2 separate regions of the Homo sapiens genome follow, and region 2 is linked to region 1. The links are contacts of gene promoters, found by promoter capture Hi-C in human tissues and cell types (Jung and others, 2019). All regions are on one chromosome and are shown on one strand. The core of a region is centred on a gene start or on the middle of the fragment in contact, and the rest is flanking DNA. Distances in the headings are between cores, read along the strand shown.

The links. Contacts are between HindIII fragments. The study calls those that stand out against the background at their distance.
Region 2: a contact is called between a fragment that was not itself captured here and the fragment with the promoter of DROSHA in region 1, in 1 of the 25 tissues and cell types used here (dorsolateral prefrontal cortex).

Annotation. Positions count from the first base shown.
Region 1 is chr5:31,529,194-31,534,749 of GRCh38, forward strand. DROSHA (drosha ribonuclease III) reads right to left here and starts at 2,900. Exons shown (of 36, transcript NM_001382508.1): 1 at 2,797-2,900; 2 at 2,257-2,332; 3 at 1,605-1,731. It overlaps C5orf22 (chromosome 5 open reading frame 22), which reads left to right and starts at 3,108. Exons shown (of 9, transcript NM_018356.3): 1 at 3,108-3,280; 2 at 5,079-5,224. The coding sequence starts at 3,200. RefSeq lists enhancers at 2,980-3,149, 3,180-3,229, 3,280-3,329. The HindIII fragment of the contact is 14,071 bases long and covers 1-5,556 here.
Region 2 is chr5:32,537,745-32,543,300 of GRCh38, forward strand. All of the region lies in intron 4 of LOC124900954 (a long non-coding RNA gene), which reads left to right. Among named protein-coding and RNA genes, the nearest start is that of SUB1, 45 kb to the right of the region's middle. RefSeq lists enhancers at 165-374, 4,632-4,831, 5,202-5,261. The HindIII fragment of the contact is 3,761 bases long and covers 500-4,260 here.

The sequences.
Region 1 (5,556 bases), core at 1,650-4,149:
TTTTGTAGTTTCCAATACACTTAGCCTACAAACAAAATTAAAAGCATGTTGAACTGTGTTAAAGTTTCCAACTAAATTTTTAATGTCCTTAAATTTTAAAATGTCATTATTACTAGTTTTGCCAACTCAAAACTATCAGCAGCTAAAAAGACTTATAGGCATAGATCATCTCTAATTTGTTAAAAGACTTGGGAAAAATATCATTTCCCCTCTCCCCCTTCATACTCTCGTTTCCTTCATGGTAAAAACAGGTAGGCATAGGCCGGGCATGGTAGTTCACGCCTGTAATCCCAGCACTTTGGGAGGTCGAGGCAGGTGGATCACGAGGGCAGGAGGTGGAGACCATCCTGGCTAACACAGTGAAATCCTGTCTCTACTAAAAATACAAAAACTTAGCCGGGCGTGGTGGTGGGCGCCTGTAGTCCCAGCTACTCGGGAGGCTGAGGCAGGAGAATGACATGAACCTGGGAGGCAGAGCTTGCAGTGAGCCGAGATGGCGCCACTGCATTCCAGCCTGGGCGACAGTCTCAAAAAAACAAACAAAAAAAAAAAAACAAAAAAAAAAACAAACCATGTAGGCATAGACCAAACACAAAAATCACAGTGAGACCAGCATTCAAATTCAAACATAACCAGAATCTTGTTAACACACCAGTTAATGATTCTTAATTTTCATTCTCAGTTCCTCCCACATAAAAACACTGTAAACATGAATGATTTTCCAAATACTTGAACTTCAGCAAAACATTTTTTAAAAACTCACATAAATATTGAGTACAAAAAGCTGTAACATAGAAACATTTTCTGAAAGTCTTTCTAAAAGTCTCATCAATAGAACTTTACTATGTAGACTTTCAAATGGCTCATGAAAATAATTTCAGATTATGCTAGCAGTCAGTGTGCTTAATAAATAATAGGCACCAAATAATATCTGATTTTTTTTTTAAGACACAAAGTCTACTCTGTCCCTAAGCTGGAGTGCAGTGGTGCAATCATAGCTCACTGCTGTCTCTTACTCCTGGGCTCAAGCAATCCTCTCACCTCAGCCTCCAAAATAGCTGGAACTACAGGCGTGAGTCACTGCGCCTGACTCCTTATTACTATTATCCAGTCCAGTACCCTCATGATAAACCTGGGGCCCGGACAGGTGCTCCTGCCACCATAGGCTACTCACTGCCAACAGAATCAAGTTCAACCTCTGTGCTTGGCATTTAAGGCTCTATTGACTCTGGACCCAGGCTTGTTCTCCAGTACCTTCCCCAGAAAGACCCTACTACCCCATGTTTTCCCAACAGATTACCATTCGAGTACAAAGAACCAGCTAGTTCTTTGCTCCCGTTCTCCTCTCTAAAATCTCCCACCCTAGGCAGAGGTTGCAGTGAGTTCAGATCGCGCCATTGCACTCCAGCCTGGGCAACAAGAGCGAAACTCTAGCTCAAAAAAAAAAAAAAAAAAAAATCTCCCAACGTATGAATCTGCCCAGTGATTTTCTATCCATCTATCAATCTTAAATGCCACCTCCTCTATGAAGCCCTTCCTGATTCCCTTAGGTAATCCCATTCCCTCTAGACTTAGTCTATACTTAATCCTTTTACAGCACTTACCAGAGACTGCCTCATATCATAGTGAAGTATGCACACGTCTAACTCTTCCACTAGATTATCAGCTCCTTGATGATATGGGTTGATTCACAGTCATTTCTGTATCCTTCACATCCCCGGGAAAAGCAACCTACACACAGTAGGTGGTCAATAAATGTTTACTCTCTCACCAATAGTATGTTTCCATGTTGCTACTGTACATTTCCCTTCCATGTACCTCCGCAACAGAAAGCAGGCCTTTTCACTGAGTCATGCAATATTTAATGAGCCCATAAATGGGAAGCACTGTCCCAGGCCCTGTAGACTCAGAGATAATAAGACACACAGCCTGTAGGATTCAAGGAACTCAGAACCCACGTACAAGTAAGTGTTTTAAAAATACAAAATAATGCAATAAACACACAAAAAAGAGGTATGTGCAGGGCTTAGGGGAACACAAAGGTGTGTGCCGCACCTAGAGGTGGGCAAAAGTCAGGGTCACGAACACTCTTGTACAGTGTGTAACAAGAGCTGAACATTCACTGCCAGATCCTCATGGATGTTTCAGTAGTTAGAAAATCTAAAAATACTAATCATGAAATTGACCTATTGAAGGCATAGTCCGGCTGTGTTGTGGATGCAGACTTTAATTCAAAAGTCAAGGAATTCACTGCACCTGGAAAAGTAACTCTCTTTTCTCCGTCTGTCTCTTCTCGGTTGCGGTTTGGAAACAGAGACACTGAAGGAGCTGTCTTGAATAGTTAACACGGCCAGAACGTCAGTGCATGTAAAAAGAATTTTAAAGTGTGACTACATTTTTATTGAGAACTCCCTCTTTCCCCAGGTGGATCTGCAGGGCAGTCACCTTCATCCTGATCCATAACTGCACATTTACTGTTTGCATCTCCCGCCAGACGGTACGCCCCACGAGGCAGGCGCTGAGCTCAGGATCTCACTCCCCTCCGAGAGCCGGGCGGCCCCAGGCCTGGACCATAGTGTGTGCTCCACAAATGAATGAAAGGTCTCCTTTTTCACTTCCACTTATTTGCGGGATCCAGGCCTAGCGTCGCTCTTTTGCCCTTAGCTGCAGATCTGAAGTGGGGCTGCCCGACCCCAATTCCCGGACGCTTTTCACCCCAGCCCCGGAGACTCCAGCCCCGTTTAAATCCTGACACTCGGAAACTCTCTTCTAACACTTGCAAGGTACCCCTTTTACCTATAAAAGGCTCTCGGGCCGCGAGATCGCCGTCAGAGCAAAGCCAGGCTACTACCGCAGGTACCAAGACAGTGGCACCGCCCGCGCCTCCGGAACAGGAAACCGAGGGAATTAAAAAGCAAACCTGAGAAAGCTGGGCCAAGGGAGGGAAAACTCTTCAGCCCACCGCAGGGCCTTGTGCGCGGTGATTGGCGCGTCAACGAAAGCGATGGACGTCTAGACCAATCGTCAGCAAAAGACCCTTTGGAGCCCGCGCCCCCTCCCCCTACGTCCTCCAATCCGAAAACGCAACCGGGTGAGGGAGCGCTTCCGCCCGGAGAGAGCTGGCCGGGATGAGGCGCCGGCTTTCCCGGGTCTTCTCCAGCTGCCACCGCTTTACTGCAAAACTGACGGGCGCAAAAACATGAGTGACTCCGCGGGAGGGCGCGCTGGTCTCCGGCGTTACCCCAAGCTCCCAGTGTGGGTGGTGGAGGATCATCAGGAGGTGAGCGGACGGCAACAGGGCTCTGGGGCAGAATCAGCGGAAGCCCTGACGCTCAGAGGGCCAAGCAGAGGGCGCAACCTTAGCATCGGAGGCCAGAGAGTTAACCAGAGTTAAACTGCCCTATTCCGTTGCTGTGGAGAGGACCCCAAAACAGCTAACTAGGAAGAATGAGAACTGACATTTATGGGCGCTTCCTACGAGTCGGGGCAACTTATTTACCTCGGTTTGCCCCCAAATCCCAGAACCAAACAAAAGGTGGCATCGGGATTCGAAACCGGACAGTCTGGCTGCAGAGCCCTGTGTTCTTAACCTGCAGTTAACTCTGGCTTCCAAGTATCTCCTGGAATCGCCACCACAGCCCTGCTGTTTAGATGGGAGGCTTTATGCTTGGAACGTGGGCTCTGATCTGAAATGGGGACAGTAATCGTAGGACTCACAGGGCTCTTAGGAGTATTATTGTGTGCATACTGTGTTTAAAAATCTTTTTTTTTTCTTTTTTGAGACGGAGTCTCTCTCTGTTACCCAGACTGGAGTGCAGTGGCGCGATCTCGGCTCACTGCAACCTCCGCCTCCTGGGTTCGAGCGATTCTTCTGTCTCAGCCTCCTGAGTAGCTGGGATCACAGGCACGCATCACCGTACCCAGCTAATTTTTGTATTTTTAGTAGAGACGGGGCTTCGCCACGTTAGCCAGGATGGTCTGAAAGTCTGACCTCACGTGATCGGCCCCCGCCGGCCTCCCAAAGTGCTGGGATTGCAGGCGTGAGCTACTGCGCACGGCCCATATTGCGTAAAAAAAAAAAAAAATTTAACACGGTGCCCTGCATAGATAAACACTAAAAGGGGTTTCCATGTTTATGGCCGTGCTGATTTACAGTAGCCAAATTGGTGTCTTAATCTAGACTTTTCCAAGTCAACAAAGGAGGCCCATGGATCTAATAAATATGTTTTAAAGTAGCATCAGTAGGCTTGGGATGGGAGGCAGTTCTCTGGACGTTAAAAAAGAAGAGGGATTTACTGTTGGTGACAGCTAATAGGAGAGGAAGATAGGTTTCTCAGGACCTGGATATAGTGTCTATGACCTTGAGAGAATGAGAAAGCCTAGGTTAGACGGTGCTTTCAAATTAGGTATTAAACCTAGAATTAGAGAAGATGTAAGAGGAGAAATGGCCTTTATAGACCACCTAGCCCAACCCCACCATTCTAAGTGTACCAAAAAGACCCTAACCAGCCTGGACAGCAGAGCGAAATCCCATCTCTACAAAAATAGAAGTGAAAAAATTAGCTGGGCGTAGTGGTGCGTGCCTGTAATCCCAGCTACTCAGGAGACTGAGGTGGGAGGATCGTGTGAACCCAGGAGTCCAAGGCTGCAGTGAGCCATGATCACACCACTGCTTTCCAGGCTGGGCAACTGACAAGCCCCTATCCCTTTTTAAAGGAAAAAAAAGAATACTTTGAGACCTAGGGTACCTTGAACACCTAGTTAATGTTAGAACAGGCATTAAGCGGTAGTTTGTTCCTGAGCCCCAGTCCTGGTCTGTTTCCCCACATGACCTGTTGAGTTCAAGGGGGCAGCAGGAAGGCCGCTGGAGATGCAGGTTGGAAGTTCTGAGGACAAAGTAATGCTTGAGATTATCATCTGCACCATCTACAGTAAACAAATTTTATGTTTTTCCACTTTACAGCAACATAGTATGCTTTCAATTATGTGCATTATTTAGCATTGTTTTTCAGTCTGCAGTTGAGTGTGTGCTCATGGTTTCAGTGTTAATTCTTATTGTGTGCCTGTGTCTTTTACAGGTTCTACCCTTTATATACCGGGCCATAGGCTCAAAGCATCTTCCTGCCAGTAATGTAAGTTTTTTACATTTCGACTCACATCCAGACCTCCTTATTCCTGTGAATATGCCAGCAGACACCGTGTTTGATAAGGAAACACTCTTTGGGTAATATGTGATTTTATTTATGGTCTTTTGTGTTTGAAGTACAATTTGCAGTAGATAATAAGCAATTATAGGAAATAGACTTTGCTAAACTCATGGGTTTGGGGGTTTTTTGTTTGTCTTTTTGTCTTTTTCATTTTATTTAGAACAAGTGTTGACAACTTTCTTAAAGAGCCAGATTAGCAAATATTTTAGGTTTGCTGGCTATATGGTCTCTGTTGCAACTATTAATCTTTGCCTTTGTAGTGTGAAAGCAATCACAAGCACTGTGTAAACAAATGACAGTAGCTGTGTTCCAATAAAGCTTTATTTACAAGCTGGGCATGGTGGATGAG
Region 2 (5,556 bases), core at 1,130-3,629, 1.0 Mb after region 1:
TCACACTTTCTTTTTTTTCTTTTTTTGAGACAGAATCTCACTCTGTCACCCAGGCTGGAGTGTAGTGGTGTGATCTTGGCTCACTGCAACCTCTGCCTCCTGGGTTAAAGCGATTCTCCTGCCTCAGCCTCTTGAGTAGCTGCAACTATAGGCACGCGTGGCCGCACCCAGCTAATTTTTTTATTTTTAGTAGAGATGAGGTTTCACCATGTTGGCCAGGCTTGTCTCGAACTCCTGACCTCAAGCGATCCTCCTGCCTCTGCCTGCCAAAGTGCTGGGATTACAGGTGTGAGCCACCGCACCTGGCCCCATTTCACACCTTCTTCCCTCTGTGGCTTCTCTCTATTTCTAGGGAGAAACATGACAGAAGTCAGCTGCTCTAGAATCAACAGACTCCTCTCCAGTTGGCATCCCACCATACAGCGGTGGCGTCATACGTTCATACATATGCTGCAGCCAAAGGGGGAGGCTCATCAACCCAGGAGGCACCCACAGGTGCCTCTCAGAGGTGATGAAAGAGGAAGTGGGGGCAGGCAGAGGTAATGGTTGTAATTTGAGTCACTTCTGTTAACTGTACCCACTTTTAGACAGCTTAATCCACTTTGACTCTGGAAAAGTGTGAACAGAAACCTTGCTGGGTTTGGAGGAGAGACAGCCTCCCACTGCTCTTCCCAGGGGAGTCCTGGAACAGGCTGCCGTGGAGGCTCAGGGCAGGCCTGGAGATGTGGCGCTGGTTCAAGGCCAGACCCGGCTGTGTCAAATTTGGATGGACTAGGAAAAGTTCCTGTACAGAAATAACAGAGACTGGAGATTATGTGTGGGAATTATTCTACTCTTATCCTGAGTATGTCTGTACTTCAATCCTGGTGCTCACTTCAAGAAAGAGGAGGATGGGGTTGCCGTTGCTCTCAAGAAAGAGGAGGATGGGGTTGCCATTGCTCTAGCAGACTACTGTTACTCCCAGAAGCTCACTTAAAGGTTCCATTTCCATAACCAATTACAGAGCAAATGCTTTTTCATAGGAATTGGTCTTTGCGGGGTTGACATTTCAGGTTGCAAAGACCCCGAAGCTTTAGGAAAGCTGAACTTTGCCGTTGAGAAATTTAGGAGGGTAGAAATTGCAACACTATCTTAGCTGCAATTAGCTGGCATTTCTGCCAAGCGCTAATACATATTTCACCCTAACTTCCAGTGAAGGACGACATTGATAAGAATATTTGGGGAGTAGCTGTGAAAGTTCATCTGGTTTTAATAGGGAAACATTGTCCTTTTCTCTGCTGATTGGAGAGCAGGTCAGGCATGAAACTGGCCTCACCCAGGAAAGACTCACATGGTTCATTCTCTCTCCAGGAATGGTAGGGAAAGCACGTGTTTTGAAACACTGGGTTTTCCCTGGCCCGGGAGAAAGTGGATCAAAAGAATCGCTGTTTTCTCCGCTGTTGTTTGGGTTCTCTAGTTTGAAAGGGTCATGGTGGTGTCTCCTGATGGGCCATTAAAGGCAATGTTGAGGAGAATAGAGAAAATACATGAAGAAAGAATAAGGAAAATTGGACATTTGGTAGAAAAGCCCAGGATTCTCTGGAGAAACGTTGGAGGTAGTGCCGAGAGAGTCTGCTGCACCAGAGGTGCCCCACCAGGGGCCCCACCAGGGGACTCTTTAAAAGAATGTTCTTGAGCTAAATTCCTGCCAACCTTCCCATGTAGCTGGTGCAATTTTCACTCCATATTCTGCTTTCTTTATTTTCTACCGCAACTGAATTCTGAGTTCCTAATCCACTGGGACTCACACTTAATAGCCTGTCTATCTACTGGCATTTGTTTGCATTGTACAAGTACAACCAAAGGCTATAGGCTTTTGGGAGCCACAGTCAGGAAGAAGTCTATCTGTCTGTCTCTCTGTTCTTTAGACTTCAGTCTTCTTACACCCTTTCCAAATGGCAACGGGCACAAAATGGCCTATCTGCTGGAAGTGGGCAATGAGCAAAAGAGACACATACATGGAAACAATGAGTTAAGAATTTAAAATATTATTCTGCACACACGTAAGTGGGAACTTCATGTCCTCTGTTCAGAAGTAAAGCAGTTGGAACCTCTGGAATCAGAATCATCTGTGCATTTGCTAAAAATATAGATTCTTGTGCCCTACCCAAATTCTGCACCCGAAAATTCTGATTCTGCCTGAATCAGAATCTTTCCAGGCAATTCTTATGTGCATCAAAGCTTGAGAGTTGCCTAGACGCAGCCTCAGCTGAACCATCTACTGTGTTTTAATACTGAGTTGTGCTTGTTCTCAAGCTGGTTCAGAGCACTTTAATGTGCATTCAAATCATGCTGAGGTCTTGTTAAGTTAGGTGGTGGGACGTGAGATTCTGCATGTCTAACAAACGCTTGGGTGATGCTGCCACTGCTGGTTGGAGGACCACCCCTTGGGTGGCAAAGTGCTAGAGAGACTATTTTTATTTCCTTTGCACTCCTGTGAGGCCATCTTGAGGCTTCTCAAGTCCCTGGGGCCAGTGATTTGCTTGCACTGGGATTGGAGATTGCTGCACCCTCATGGGTACTGTGCTTTGTTGACTGGGCTCTATCTCATGCTCATCCAGATTTACCCTGCCTTCCTGCTTCCCCTTCCATCTCCTCAGCCAACACCCCTATTCCCACCCTCACTCTTCTACCCCCACTCTGCCTAAGGGGCAGCCCTGCTGCCATAGCCTGGTCTTCCTCACACTGTGGGTCTACTCTGACTATAGATACATAATTGAATATCTTTAGATAATCTTCAGATTTGCTAGTATGATAAAGTCCTTCTTCCTCCTAGGAGAAAAGGGGAAGTGGGACTCGAAGCAAGCATGTAAAATTGAGTCAGGAGTTCTTTTTTCTCTTTAGGGCCACCATCAGTGGGTGGCCCCAGTGTAATGGAATGGAGTGGAAGATGTTACCATTTCCTACACTGTCCTTGACCTTGAAAGAAGAACTGAATCTATGGGACCTACTGCCACTTTCTATAGGTGGAGGGGAAAGGGGAACCCCGTTGCATGGCATAAGCTTATCCCTCAAGTCCTTGGTGAGCGGGGGTTGGGGGTAAGAGGGAAGAATTACAGGGTGTTAGAAGTGGTGAGATTCTTTTCTCCAGTCATGGAGAACTTCTGATATTCAATCCAGAATGGCTTTAATTGCTACTAGTTAACAATAAGAAAGAAGGTCTACAGTTGAGGTCTAGGGAAAGACTGGCTTGTAGTGCTCCTCAGGCTTGCAGTCACATTGAAAAGTCTAATGGTGGCCAGGCGCGGTTGCTCATGCCTGTAATCCCAGCACTTTAGAAGGCCGAGGTGGGCAGATCACCTGAGGTCAGGAGTTCGAGACCAGTCTTGCCAGCATGGTGAAACCCTGTCGCTACTAAAAATACAAAAATTTGCTGGGCATGGTGGTGGGTGCCTGTAATCCCAGCTACTTGGGAGGCTGAGGCAGGAGAATTGCTTGAACCCGGAAGGCGGAGGTTGCAGTGAGCGGAGATTGTGCCACTGCAGTCACATGAGATTGTGCCACTGCGGCAGAGCGAGACTCTGTCTCAGAAAAAAAGAAAAGAAAAGAAAAGAAAAGTCTAATGGTTAGAGTGAAGCCAGCCATAGCCAGTGGACTGTCATGACAATAGATACAGATAAAAATTCCAGACTGTACAGTTGTTGACTGTGGCTCTGGGCCAGAGTAAGATCTCTTAGGCCTGGGAAAGTAACCATAGATGTCACTGGCCCTGAGGCCAAGCAGAGCCAGTACCTCTCAGAGCAGTGGCTTGCAAACTAGGGTCTGCAGAAAGCTCTTTCAGCATCACCGGGGGAGATTCATAACAGCAATGCCAACACCCACCCTGAAGAGTCTGATTCAGCAGGGCCTCATGAGCTATATTTAAAAAATATATTATATGGGCAATTTAACAGTAAGTTAAATTGCAAGTTTTGACTTTGTCGGGTTTACGAAGCAATGCCTTAGCACAATGGTTTCCCAAATTTTTAGCAGAGAAAAATTTATTAACTAGAAAAATATTTATTGAACAATTACTGTATGCCATGTATTGTTGTAAGCCCTGGACAAAAAGTGGTAAATAAGACTGACGAGGTGGCTGGGCACCTGCAATCCCAGCACTTTGGGAGGCTGAGATGGGCAGGTCACTTGAGGTTAGGTATTTGAGACCAGCCTGGCCAACATGGTGAAACCCCCATCTCTACTAAAAATACAAAAATTAGCTGGGCATGGTGGCGTGCGCCTGTAGTCCCAGCTACTCGGGAGGCTGAGGCACGAGAATTGCTTAAACCCTGGAGGCGGAGGTTGCAGTGAGCCAAGATTGCACCACTGCTCTCCAGCCTGGGTGATAGAGCAAAACTCTGTCTCCAAAAAAAAAGAAAAGAAAATGACTGACAAGGTTTCCACTGAACTCTAAGACAGATAAAAATGAGGAGCGGATTTTTCAGGAATGTTAAACACTCATTGTTTAGAAGAAAATACTGTTTGTTGTTGAACCCCTGAAGTACCATCAGGTTCTGTGATGCACAGTTTGAGAACTGCTTTCTTGGGAAGGAGCTTAGAGCAATAAAACTATAAGATGGCAGAAGGAATGTCCAACACAGTGGGGTTCAAATGACAAACCTGGAAGCCTTTTCCACTTCCTCGTTGATAAAGTGGAGACAATGACATCTACCTCAAGTCTTACTGTGAGTAAGAAAAGAACTGAACACATACATTGTGGAGCTCAATGTTGGGTGTGCAGCTGGACCCTGCTGCATTTTTGTTCTCTTTCGTCTGTCTTTGCTTGGGAACAGGTCACTTCACTTTGATTGGGAGTAAGTTTGAGGAGAAAACAAGACATTCCTGGAAGCGTGTTGCCACTTGAGGCTCAGGTGGGATAACGAGGAGCACAAAAGGCAGAAGCCAAGAAAAGGCCCCACCATGCCACAGCCAAAAGCAACCACAGATGTAAAATGGCACAGTGGATCTGGCAGTTCTCCTTAAAACGTTAAACACAGAGTCACCATATGACTCATCAGTTCCGCTGCTATGTATATACCCAAGAGAACTGAAAACGTATGTCTGCACAAAAACCTGTACATGAAAGTTCAAAGAAGCGTTATTCATAATAGCCAGAAAGTGGAAACAACCCAAATCTCCCTTAACCAACGAATGGATAAGCAAAATATGGTATACCCATACAGTGGAATATTATTCAGCCAAAAAAAGAAATGAAGTGCTGACACACACAACAGCATGGGTGAACCACGAGAACATTATGCCAAGAAAGAGGCCAGACATGAAAGACCACATATTATAGAATTCCTTTATATGAAATGTCCAGAATAGGAAAATCTATAGAAACAGAAATTAGGCCAGGTGCAGTGGCTCATGCCTGCAATCCCAACACTTTGGGAGGCTGAGGCGGGTGGATCACCTGAGGTCAGGAGTTCAAGACCAGCCTGGCCAACATGGCGAAAGCTTGTCTCTACCAAAAATACAAATATTAGTCGGGCGTGGAGATGTGTGCCTGTAGTCCCATCTACTCAGGAGGCTGAG